2 separate regions of the Homo sapiens genome follow, and region 1 is linked to region 2. Evidence: promoter capture Hi-C in 16 types of primary human blood cells and fetal thymus (Javierre and others, 2016). All regions are on one chromosome and are shown on one strand. The core of a region is centred on a gene start or on the middle of the fragment in contact, and the rest is flanking DNA. Distances in the headings are between cores, read along the strand shown. Region 1 has its middle 46 kb from the start of SST. Region 2 holds the start of RTP1 (receptor transporter protein 1).

Region 1 (5,872 bases), core at 1,625-4,124, 430 kb before region 2:
TGGAATGAGACTGTGAGGCCTCAGGCAGCTCACCTCCCTTCTGGGCCTCAATTTCATCTGAGAAATGAGGGAGTTACTAGGTAAGAAGACTAAATCTGTGGGCTTGTCTAGCTTTAACATTTTGTGTTAAATTTTGTGTTTAACACTCTAGTTGTGGCTTGAGCCACAGACTGGCCAGAGTGGAATTGCCAGGTAGGAAAGGGTACTTGGAAGGGGTCAGTCCTGCTGCAGGAGAAGACAAGGTGTTCCAAAAAGGCCTGCTCACTCTTTAAATGGCATAGTGTAGTGGTTAAAAGCCTACATTCTGACAGGTGGACTCCCTCAGTTTGCATCCTTTGTTCAGTTACCAAGTTTTTCTTTGCATCTTTATGTCATAGGGCTTGTCTTAGTCTTTTCAGGCTGCTATAGCAAAATACCACACTACTGAGTGGCTTATATACAACAGAAACTTATTTCTCCGAGTTCTGGAGGCTGGAAAGTTCAAGAACAAGGCACTGGCTGGTTTGGTGTCTGGCAAGGCCTGCTTCCTGGTTCACAGATGGCCATCTGAGATTGGAGTAAACACAAAATGTTTCTTCTCTGCTCTTACGCCACAACAATCAACACAGAAGACTTATGTGACTAAATGTTTAGGGATTTTCTCTCTACCATCAAGCAAGCATTCAATTCTGTAGTGGATGCCAGCTGGGTGTCTTATTCAATTCAATTCAATTCAGTTCTTACACTATCTACCTGCAGGGCTATCTACTGAGCCCTTTCAAGTTGAAGGCTCAGTCCCCAAGACTGTCCCCTACTTTTTTTTTTTTTTTTTTTTTTTTTTTTGAGGTGGAGTCTCGCTCTGTCACCCAGGCTGGAGTGCAATGGTGCAATCTCTGCTCACTGCAACCTCCACCTCCTGGGCTCAAGCAATTCTCCTGCCTCAGCCTCCTGAGTAGCTGGGATTACAGGCAGCCATCACCATGCCTGGCTAATTTTTGTATTTTTAGTAGAGATGGGGTTTCACCCTGTTGGCCAGGGTGGTTTCAGACTCCTGATCGCGAGTGATCCACCTGCCTTGGCCTCTCAAAGTGCTGGGATTACAGGTGAGAGCCACTGCGCCTCAGGCTGCTTTACCTGTGCTTCTGACCAACCAGATATAAATCAGGGATCTCATTACCCACCTCCTTGGGTTCTATAAATTTGTTAGAGCAGTTCACAGAACTCAGGGAAACACTTACTTATGCTTAATGGTTTATTATAAAGAATATTACAAAGGATACAAATAAAGAGATGCATAAGGTGAGGTATGGGAATGGGCATAGAGCTCCCATGACATTCCTGGGTGCACCACCCTCCAGGGACCTCTACGTGTTCAGCTATCTGGAGGCTCTCTGAATTCTGTCCTTTTGGGCCTTTTATGGAGACTTCATTGGATAGGCTTGATTGACAGCCATGTGGAAATGTGATTGGACAAGAAGAGTATAATCTAATACTAATAACTGAGCAGGGATCCCCAGCAAGTCCTGCCTGTTCAAATTCTTTTTGGCCTCTCTGTGCAGTGTTCCTTCCCCAGGGTACGAGGCTGAACCTCTTTGGAAGCAGAGGTCTTATGATCTACAATCAGACAAGGTGGGTCAGAAAATTTCTTTATGACCAGAGGTGGGGGAAGATTAGAGTGTATTTTTAGTTTCTAAATCCTGCCTTGAGGAGAAAAAGAAGCAGGTGAAAAAACGGCAGGAGAAAGGTCAGTGAGAGAGAGCTTCTGCTTTCTGACACCTAAAGTGCCCCAGCATTATAACAAAAGACTGTAATAAGGGCTATGGGAGTGATAAACTGGGAACTGTGGATGAAAACACACACACACACACACACACACACACACACACATATACAATCTCATAATATCACACCATATTTTTACTATGTTCTCACATGGCTGAAGGGGGCAAATGAGCTCTCTGGGGTCCTTTTTACAAGAGCACTAATCTCATTTATGAGGGCCTCTAACCTGACCTAATCACCTCTCCAAGGCCCTGCCTCCAAATGCCATCACCTTGGGGGTTGGGTTTCAACATATGAATTTTGCAGTGACACAAATATTCAGTGTTTAGCAGGTCTATGGACACAATGAATGGTGTTAATACTTCTAAAATGGGATTAATGGTAGGGCGGCTGACGACATTAATGACAATTATTCATGGAGAACACTAAATGTTCAGAAAATAGGAATTCCTGCTGCTGTCTTTGCTACTGTTCAGCACCCAGAACTTTTCAAATTAGAGGATATCACTGCTTCCATGCACGCTCATGCCCAGAGAGTGACTCTGGCGAAGGCTTTGAGCAATAATGTAAGATAAGATAAGAGCCTGGACCCCCACCTCTCAGATGTGATACAGAAGTGAACAGGGTACTCAACAAGAATTGCTCTCATTTACTGAGCATTTTCGGTGTGCCATGAGCTGTGATGGATACCACATGGCGTCTTTTCATACAATTTTGTCAACAATGCTGTGAGGTGAGTGGAGATGTTGAGGATCGGTGCAATCTATCCCTGCTGGAACTCAGGTCTGTCTGACTCAGAAGTCCATGCTCTTAAAGCAAGCCAAATACTTGTGGAATGTAAAATGCTAACCTCTGAGCACAGCCAGTCTGGGGACTGCCAGAGTGCTCTCTGATGCAGGAAAATACATCTGAGGACAGGGAAGCCGAGTGAGGTGCCCAGAAAAGACAATTTGGAAGGTGCAGGGTGAAAATAGAATCAGTCTCTCTTTCTCTCTACACACATATACACACACATACCATATTTGTGGCATAAAGCTTTCCACTTAGAGTCAGAAAACTTGGATTCGAGTATTTGTTGCTCTTTCACTTACAGGGATGTGAACTTTGGTAAGTCATTTCCCTAGTTTTGCCACCTATAAAATGGAAAGTCAGGTATTTCTCAATTTCTTCATAGAGTAGCACAAAGCTTAAATCCTATAGATAATGGATGTGAATGTTCTTTGTAAGCAGTATAGCAGTATTAATGGTATTTGATTTTTAAAATCACTTATACTCAATATTACCAAGATTTTGGATTGCCTCCTTCCCGGAAGACTTCCCTCCCTTTTCAAAAAATCATGATCATCCTTTTAGCAATGATTCTGTCCCAGAGGACAACCATGTGGATCAGGGAAAGAACAAATTGCCTTAATTTAGTTCCAAAGATATTTGAAGAGATCAATTTCCAGAGTGTTGTCAAGGGGCGAATGTGTGGACACTGAATTTTAGTGAAGAGTAATGGCTCACCTCTGTCAATAGAGGCAACAAGGAGCATGGTGAGGGTGGGAAAGCTGCCAGCCCGTGTAATCTGCAGCTGAGAGAGGAGGCTTCCATTCGAAAGCAAAAAGAGTTAGGTGGAAAAGCTTAGTTCCTGTCTTTTTCTTTTTGGAGAAATGTAATTACTGTGTTGATGTGTTGACCATTCAGGTTTGCTTGTTTTGTAATTATTTCTTCCTTCCTTTTTCTTTGTTTATCCTACCTTAATGGGATAATTAGACCTGCAGGTGCTCATCAAATACAGTGGGTGCCTGGGAACGCACTCCCTGGAGGGTGGGTAAGGCAGGTGCCAAGAGAGGGCCAATGCAGGGGTGCAGGCACAGGGCTGAGCATTATAGCTCTCAGCACTCGTCTGACTTGGACACTCCTTCCTGAGTGGGAGGGTGCACTTGTTAAAGTGTCTGTTTCCGAGATGTGTCTCTGGAGAGCACAGAGTGAGCCAGTGTGAGGTCATCTGGGTCTGCCCCTCTCATCCATGTGGTCTGACCACTTAGCCTTCTGAGTTTCAGTTGCTTCATCTGCAAAATAGTAATAATGATGCCTCCTGCTCCTCAAGGCTGTGGGGAGAATCGCATTCACAATGTATTCTTTTATTCCCTCAAAAGGTCTTAACTGAGCAACTACTGTGTTCCAGGCACTGGGAATATAGCCATGAAAATACAAAGATCTCATTCCCTAGGGAGCTCACATTCTACAAGTAAAATGTATAGCAAGTCAGACAGTGAGGAGTGCTGTGGAGAAGCATATCATGGGAAGCGGACAGGGAGTTTCAGGGGAGGTGGGCACAGTTGCAATTTTCCTTTAGGCCAATAGGAAAGATAACATTTGAACACAGTTCTGAAGTAGGTGAGGGAGCAAGCCAGGTAGATATCTGAGGGAGGAATGTTCAGGATAGGGGAAACAGTAAATGCAAAGTGATGTGATATGTGTGAAAATACCTTATAAATGGTAAAGAATTGTCTAAGAATAGCTGTTGTTATTATAACTCTTAAATACAGATAGCCTGATAACAGAGATTTTTCATCAATATGTATTACTGCCTTGTAGTGCTACAGAAGTCTTTCTACAAGTTCCTATCAAGTCTTAGCAACTGAGCAGTTCACGGAACTCCTCGGAGAAAGGCACAAGACGGTCTCTCTAGCATTTTCACCTTCTTCACAGTATTATTCCTGTAGTAACCGTTTCTTAGGCCATGTTTAAAAGAACTACAGGCAATTAACAAGTCAACTAAACTTAAAAAAAAATGGTCAGACCAGTTTTGCATTCTGTGAACCACAAAGAAAAAAGTAGTTGCTGAATGTTTTTTGGTTTCTGCTTTACTTTTCATTTGGTTGTGCTAGAATGGTGAAGTCTGCCTCCCTAGTATAAAATGTACATTTCTACTGACATTTAAAAAATGGCTCTGAGGGTTTCAGACAGAAGTCTCTCTAGATGTGCAAGAAGTTTCAATTATTCTGTTTGGGAACATTGTCATTTTTTTTTTTTTTTTGAGATGCTTTTTGGTGTCGGGAGGCCTCAGCTAAGACACGTGGGAGAGTTAATGAACAGAATTGATAATGACAGATAGGAAAATTGATTGTCAGACAAGAAATGGTAGGAACATAAGCAGGGAGATCTGTCTAGGGAGATGGAGGATGGGGCTGTCAGTGATGGGAAATAGAGATGGGTTGTGGTAGGGGAAATACTATAGCTACTGACAGAAGACAGTGCCAACCTGAGACTGGGCAATGGAGCTCAAAGGCATATGACCATTTAGGACTTAAGAAGAGAGGCTAATTTCTCATTGCATTGTTTCTGGGCTACTTCTTACCTCCCAAACTCAAATGGATTCAAGGCTGGTAAAGAATGTCAATATGATATTGCTAAGCCTGGCTTTCTCTGTTTAGCCCCTGGATAAGCTTGTTATTCCAAGCTCCTTGTCTTCCAGCCTTCCCATGGCTAGCAGCAAAGACAATTAGTCTTGTGATCTTGCGTTGCTGAGCTTAAAAGAACCTCTTGTCCAACAGTCACGTTGCAATGGAGGATGCCCAATGCCTTGAAACAGAAAGTGACTTTGATCAGGTTCCTATAGGCATTTGATGGAAAATTCAGGACTGGAGCCAAGGTCCAGTCTCCAAGTTAGGAACTTTTAAAAATCATTTCATGTTGTTTGAGAAGAATACTCCATGTTAATATGTGTGATTTGTTGAGTGGCCAATTTGTCAGTGTTTACTCAGTAAACCTACAGAGAGATCCTGTTCTGGCCAGTGTTCAAATGATAACTACACCTACACCTAGACAGTTGGATTCTGAAATATTTGGAAATATGAGCCAAGGAAAGTTGAATGGATAGGGCAAAAAATGCATAGGATAAAGTATGACTTGGAGGACTTGGGTTCACATCCTGACTGATGAGATACTGGCTGGGGGCTTTGGGTCAGGCATAGAACCATGGATGCATATGGTCAGGAAGGAGCTTAATGAATATCTAAGTCAACTCTTCATCATTTCACAGTCGCCTGTGCCATATCTCTGAGCGGTCCTCTGGTCCTGTGATGGTACAGGGGCTCATTTCCAATGACGGCAACTCCAATTG
Region 2 (5,930 bases), core at 3,130-5,629:
ATTCATTTCTTCCTCTAGTCTGCATATTCTGAACACCTACTGTCTAGCAAGTAAATCAGGACTTGCTAGATAGCAGGTGTTCAGGATATGCGGACTAGATGAAGAAATAAATACTCTGTGAATGAAGTAAAGGAAGCCATCGCTGCTTACTTGAATTCGAGCCAGGATAGGAGTAAAACTGACCTTATGCTGATCCCCTGAATGACTGACTTCCATCCCTCCTGACTGTGGACGAGACTGGCCAAAAACTGGAGCTAGATAGAGCCTTATGTGGCAGTGGGGTCAGGGGGCAGAAGGGAGAAAAGGGGAGACAGGGTGGCGGGATGGAGGGGACCAATAGCTCATTACAGATCTGGGACAGTGGGGGAATCTCAAACACACATTAATGACTACTAAGCCTTATGGAAGATATCCTGTCTTTATTAAAGTGTCCCATCTTTATATAAGTGACCCCCTTCCTCCATCACTACAGATGATGGTGACTTTCTATTAAAGAGGAGAGTAGTCAAGTTTTTAACAGAGGTGGGGTAAATGAGGCCCCTCAAAAGTGCAGCTTGCTGCCTGTCCCCACCAATTCCATTCCAGACCCCCCACTGTCAGAAAGTGTCTCCTCCCATTTCAAGCCATATCACATCTCATTTTAGAGCCTTGTAAGGTTCTCCCACATATCTGTGCACTTCCCCATGGACAAAGCATTTTACATCTTTAACGCCCTCTCTCTTGCTGAAGATACCCCATCCCTGTGGCTTTAGGGGGACAGCTGATCTTTGGCAAGAGGCCTCATGCTTGGCCAATGTGAGAAAGCCATTCAACTATAATTTCAGCAAAGAACCCAGGAGGCCAGGCCCCTGCTCCTGAATTCTGGCCATCAGCACTGCTGAGAATCTGCTAGACTTGGTCCCCGAACTCTGAAGACCCTCCATTATAATGCCTCCCAGAGATTTTGTGCTTTGCTTCTAAAACTCTGTCTTCTGAACCTCCCCTAAATTCTCTGCCAGTTAATACGCAGTGGGTGAGAAGCCTAACTCTATGAGACCCCACCCCAACCACCATCTTTCAGGCAGGCAGACCCCAGAATCTGCCCTGAGTGGAAAGAAGCTGGAATCTGAGAAACAAAAAAAAGAGACCCTGTGTACCTGGCAGCAAAGGAACAGCCTGATCTCCCACCTCTTGCACTTCAAGGGAAACCTCTGCTGCGTGTGTGAAGGCAGAATCACGGATGAGGCTCACAGGGTGGGCAAAGAAGCTAATTTAAGGCTGCAGCTAGAGAAAGTGGGAGATCATGAGGGGCAGGGGTGAGGGACTAATAAGAGCAAGGTCGAGCTCATTACTGTGGAAAGCCCTTTTGAGATCACCCAGTCCTCTAATTTTCAAACTTTTTAAAAGTAGTTAAACTTTTTTTTTTTTTTTTTTTGGTACAAAAATCTTAAATGGAACCCTATCTAAAGTAAAGCTGTTCTGATCGAAGCAAGAGGAGGAGGTAGGAGTTGGAGGATGGGTGTTTAGATCAGGAGTTGGAGACACCCACTAGCTTAGCCTACTTTCCAAATCCAAAAGTCCCTGAGGCACCTACGCAGAACTTTGGGGTCCTGGGTTTCACTATGATAAACCAATGATCTTGCCCAAACCCTGAGTTTTATAGATGGAAAAACTGTATAATTTGTCCAAGATCCCCACTGAGTCAGTGACATCACCAGCGCTAGAAGTTTACACTATTCTCAACCCACGTCTCTCCTCTACCCTCGCATCAGCTAACTGGCACCCTCGACAGGCTCTGGGCCCAACCACGGAATCTTATACGGAGCTACGGAAAGAGAACTGCAGGTAGATGATCAGCAGCAGGACCGTGGCCCAAAACAAGCACCAGGGGATAGAGCAGAAGTTCCAGCCTGAGCCCGTCTGGTCCTGCGACTTGGTGGGGCTGGGCGCCCGGGAGAAGGTGTAGGTGGTCGCCTCCTCCTCCAGCAGCTTCTCGCTGGGCTTCCAGTGCACGATGCCCTCCTGGCAGGCCTCGCAGAACTCTCCGCGGTGCCGCCGGTTGTCCTGGCGGCTGGCCACGTGGATGCGGTACTGGCCGCCACGCTCGCCGTAGCACTGCTCGCGCAGGCTGGTGATGAGGTTGTCCACCAGGCCCTCGATGTTCTCCTCCAGCATGCTGGACTCGTCCAGCCGCGCCGTGCCGCACTCATAGCACAGCTGCTTGAAGACGCGCATGCGCACCGAGCCCGCCCGCTGGGCGCGGTCCAGGAACATGTGGAAGAGGATGACCACGTAGGGCGACTGCCAGGTGTGCCAGCACCAGGAGCAGTGGAACCTGCGGAGACGGGAGGAGAGGGAGGAATAGAAGACGGGCGGAGGTGGTGGAAACAGCCCTAGGAATGGCGTGAGGGGACGTGGAGGCTAAGCAGAGCCTGGAGGTGGAGGAAGTGTGTTGCCGGCGCCCTGGGTTCATTAGCTTTCCCCAGGAAGCCACTCAGCCTTGCAAGTGCCCCTAGGACTACAGCAGGTTCCTCAGGATGTCACCGGGCATCCAGCAGTGCTCTACCTCCTCAGTGCTTTCCAGAGGCCTAACTCCCACCACCCCAGCATTGGGCGTCATTCTTATTCCTCATGGGCAAAATGCGCTTGGTGCACTAGGTGAGTCCTTCCTTCTCACACCAGATAAGAAACACATAATCCATCTGCACATTTCTATCTGTTAACACTGACTGTGAACAGGCTAGATCCAAATTAGGAGAAAATGACACCATTACTAGCTATCAACGTCCAGGCCAGTGTCAGAGTTAATGCATCACAAGGCCTGGAGGTGGAGGCAGTCTGTGCCCAGATCCCCAAGGCCTGTAGTCTCCCAGGCCTGACTGGGGCCAGCTGGGGATTACAGGTCCCCAGCCAGGTCTGGGGCAGCCACAAGCCCTCCCCACTCAGCCCCCACAGCCTTCCAGGTCTTCAAGAAGCTCCTGATCCTGCCTGTAAGTGTCCAGCCCTTGACACCCCTCCTGTCAGCCAGTTTAGGAGCTTCACATTTTCATTCTCTTCTTGTTCACACATCTTTTGGGGACTGTTTCCTCTCTCAGACCAGACTACAAAACCTGGATTGAAAAATGTCGTAACTAGAGGGACCTGGAAATCACCTAATTAATGTTTTCTTTTATGCTGAGACAGAGTGAGAGAGGCATCCATGTACACACAGCTAGAGGCAGAACCGGCGCCCAGCACGTAACAGGTGCCCAGTAATGTTTCCTGAATTGAAGTGAATTGGCTGAACCAGGGCAAGCAGGAAGGCCTTGCTTCTGACTTCCAGGCTGCACCACTCAGCCTCCCCATCTTATGTCTCAAAGGTAAGCCCCTACACTCTGGACCCATGAACAAGAGTGCTAGAAATTCATCTCAGATAGTTTTTACATACTAATCACCTAGAACTCTTCTTGAAATCAGATTCTGATTCAGATCTAAAAGGGGCCCAAGATTCTGCTTTCTTAACAAATTCCAGGTGATGCCGATCCTGCTGCTCTGTGGACCACAGGCTAACCTCTCACTGTGCAAAAGGAGAAAGCCAGGTCCAAGAAGAAAATCGAGTTCCTCAACAGCCATGGAGCCAATGATAGAGCCAGTTTCTGGCACATCTCATGTATTCAATATTTTAAGTGAAATTAAGTTGAGTTAAATAGATTTAAACCGGTCCCAGGACCAGAGCACGGACGTCTCGACCCCCAGTGGGCCTCAAACCCTTCTTCTCTGGTTTTAAACTACTTTTTAAGAGACTGTTAAAATAGAAAATATGTAAAATGTCAGTGTGTAGGACTCATACGTATATTCTATGTCTTTATTTTCCAGACGGAAAAATTGTGACTCAGAGAGGAAGAGTAACACAGGTGATCAGTAGAAGAGCTGAAATCCAACTCAAGTGTCGTAGTTCCCAGTTAGGGACTCTTTCTCTGACTTCCAGTCTACGCCAGCCTAATAGTGAGATTGAAGCTAAACACTTGGGTTCTACGTAATCTTCCTCTCCTTGGAAGGTGCCCCAGAGCTAGGGACCTAGAGGCGGCCTGCAGGGATCCACCTTCCTGGGCTACTCACCTGCCTGAAGCATGCAATTCCAGGTACTGCTTCCAACCAGGGCTCAGCACATTGTGCTTGAGGTTGGGGTCTATGATGAGGTCCCAGCTGTCAGCCGGCTTTGCCTCCTCCATCTTCTCATAGAAGACTTTCTTCCACTCATCTGTGGTCACGCTTTTACACATGGTCTCGTCAGTAGTGAGGGAAGGCAATTTCCACCTTAGTGAGAACACGGAGAGTGAGGGTAGGTGCAGGGCAGGGCAGCGCAGTCTCCACGGTCTAAAAATCCTCATCGACAAGACCAGGAGGAAGCAGGACCCAGCTCCCTCCTTTGTCCGCAGTGGAACCTGTTTCCACGGCAACCAGGCAGGTTGCCAGAAGACAGAGCTTGGGGAGGAGGGAGTCTCTGAAGAGGTGTTTCAAGGCCCTGAACTGAGATTGCAGAGGCAGAGTTTGTGGGTCTAAATGATCCAAGACAGAGTGGGGGACCTGACCAGAGATTGAGCTTCAGACCATCTCACCCTGGCCTGGAAAGAGTATGGGGAGGTGAGGACTGGGAACTGGCTCAGTTTCACCTTGCCGTCCCCTGGAGGCATCATCAGCATCTGGCTGCTACGGTAACCATGATGCCTTAGGCAGCCAAGGAGAAATGAGGGATGGGGAGATGTAAATTTGTTAGTAGATGGAGCAATAATAATAAACTCTCTCTCGGCTTCCCCAGCCATCTTGTGACCAGCACTTTGCCATTTTCAAAACACAATTGGAGGTCTCTTAAGTTATGATTACTATTGCTGCAGTACAGATCAGGAGCCTAGGACTCACCTAGCCTATAAATGGCGGAGCCTGTATACAAATTCAAGCTGTTGACCCCAGACCGGTTCATTAATTCATTCATTTCAAACATATCCGAGCATGTGGGTAGGGTTTGCAGACATGTGCCAAGCTCTATGTCAGTGCTTGTAGCTGACTGTGTACTGAATAACTGTGCAATAGGATCCATGCTGCAATGGCCTTGTGCAAGAACAGCCACCTGTGCACAAAGGTAGGAGCATTGCATCAGCCAGGCAGGAGCAGACAAGATTATTTCCAAGCTGATTATAGAAGCGCAGAAGAGGAGCACCACCCACAGGCAAAACAGCCTTTACTATACATGCCTCTGCTGCTATTTTTAATAAATTATTTTTCCTTTTAAAAAATCATATGGGTTTATTCTAGAAAAAATACAAAATATAGATGAAAGAAAAGAGAAGTAAGACTCTTCCATAAAACCCCACCCGAGATGACTACTGTTAACATTACGATATGTACATCCCGCTTACCATTTTTCTGTACATGTACAAGTGTATGTGTGTGTATATACACACACATTCTGTACACCACATACATTCTATATACCACATTGTGACATTTTCAAAAAATAATACGTCATGAATATTTTTCTAGGTCATATTCCGTAGTAGTACATTATGGGCTACCTATATTCTGTTATATGGATAGGCATAATTTATTTAGCCAATCCTGTCTTTTAGGGCATTTTGGTTTTATTTCAGTTTCTCACATTACACTCTTCCCATCTATTTGTATAAACTTGTTGACGAAGCTCATCGCATGCATTAGAAACAACACTTCCTACAATTGGAAAACACGTCTCTTGACTCCACTCTCTCCAAAAGCTTGGTGTGGCTAGCAGAATCTGAGCAGGCTCTTCAAACAGTATGAATTTTGGACAGCCAGCAGATCTTGAAGTTTAGTGATGAAAAAGAGGGACTTAAAATCACCCATCTGATACCAGAAACCATCTTCCAAGTGCTTCTCCTGCCGCTTCATGGATGTTTGATGCCTTGATTTACACTATTTTAACCTCAGTTTATTCA

The links. The method cuts DNA at HindIII sites, captures the fragments that hold promoters and counts their contacts. A CHiCAGO score of 5 or more calls a contact.
Region 1: a fragment that was not itself captured here is called in contact with the fragment with the promoter of RTP1 in region 2 in 1 of 17 cell types (M1 macrophages); the score reaches 5.2 in M1 macrophages.

The regions. Positions count from the first base shown.
Region 1 is chr3:187,621,477-187,627,348 of GRCh38, reverse strand. No RefSeq gene overlaps it. Among named protein-coding and RNA genes, the nearest start is that of SST, 46 kb to the left of the region's middle. The HindIII fragment of the contact is 151 bases long and covers 2,799-2,949 here.
Region 2 is chr3:187,195,935-187,201,864 of GRCh38, reverse strand. RTP1 (receptor transporter protein 1) reads right to left here and starts at 4,379. Exons shown (of 2, transcript NM_153708.3): 1 at 4,078-4,379; 2 at 403-2,314. The coding sequence starts at 4,349. The coding sequence ends at 1,795. It overlaps LOC101929106 (a long non-coding RNA gene), which reads left to right. Exons shown (of 5, transcript NR_110052.1): 3 at 1,752-2,637; 4 at 3,163-3,338; 5 at 3,835-4,775. The HindIII fragment of the contact is 10,837 bases long and covers 1-5,731 here.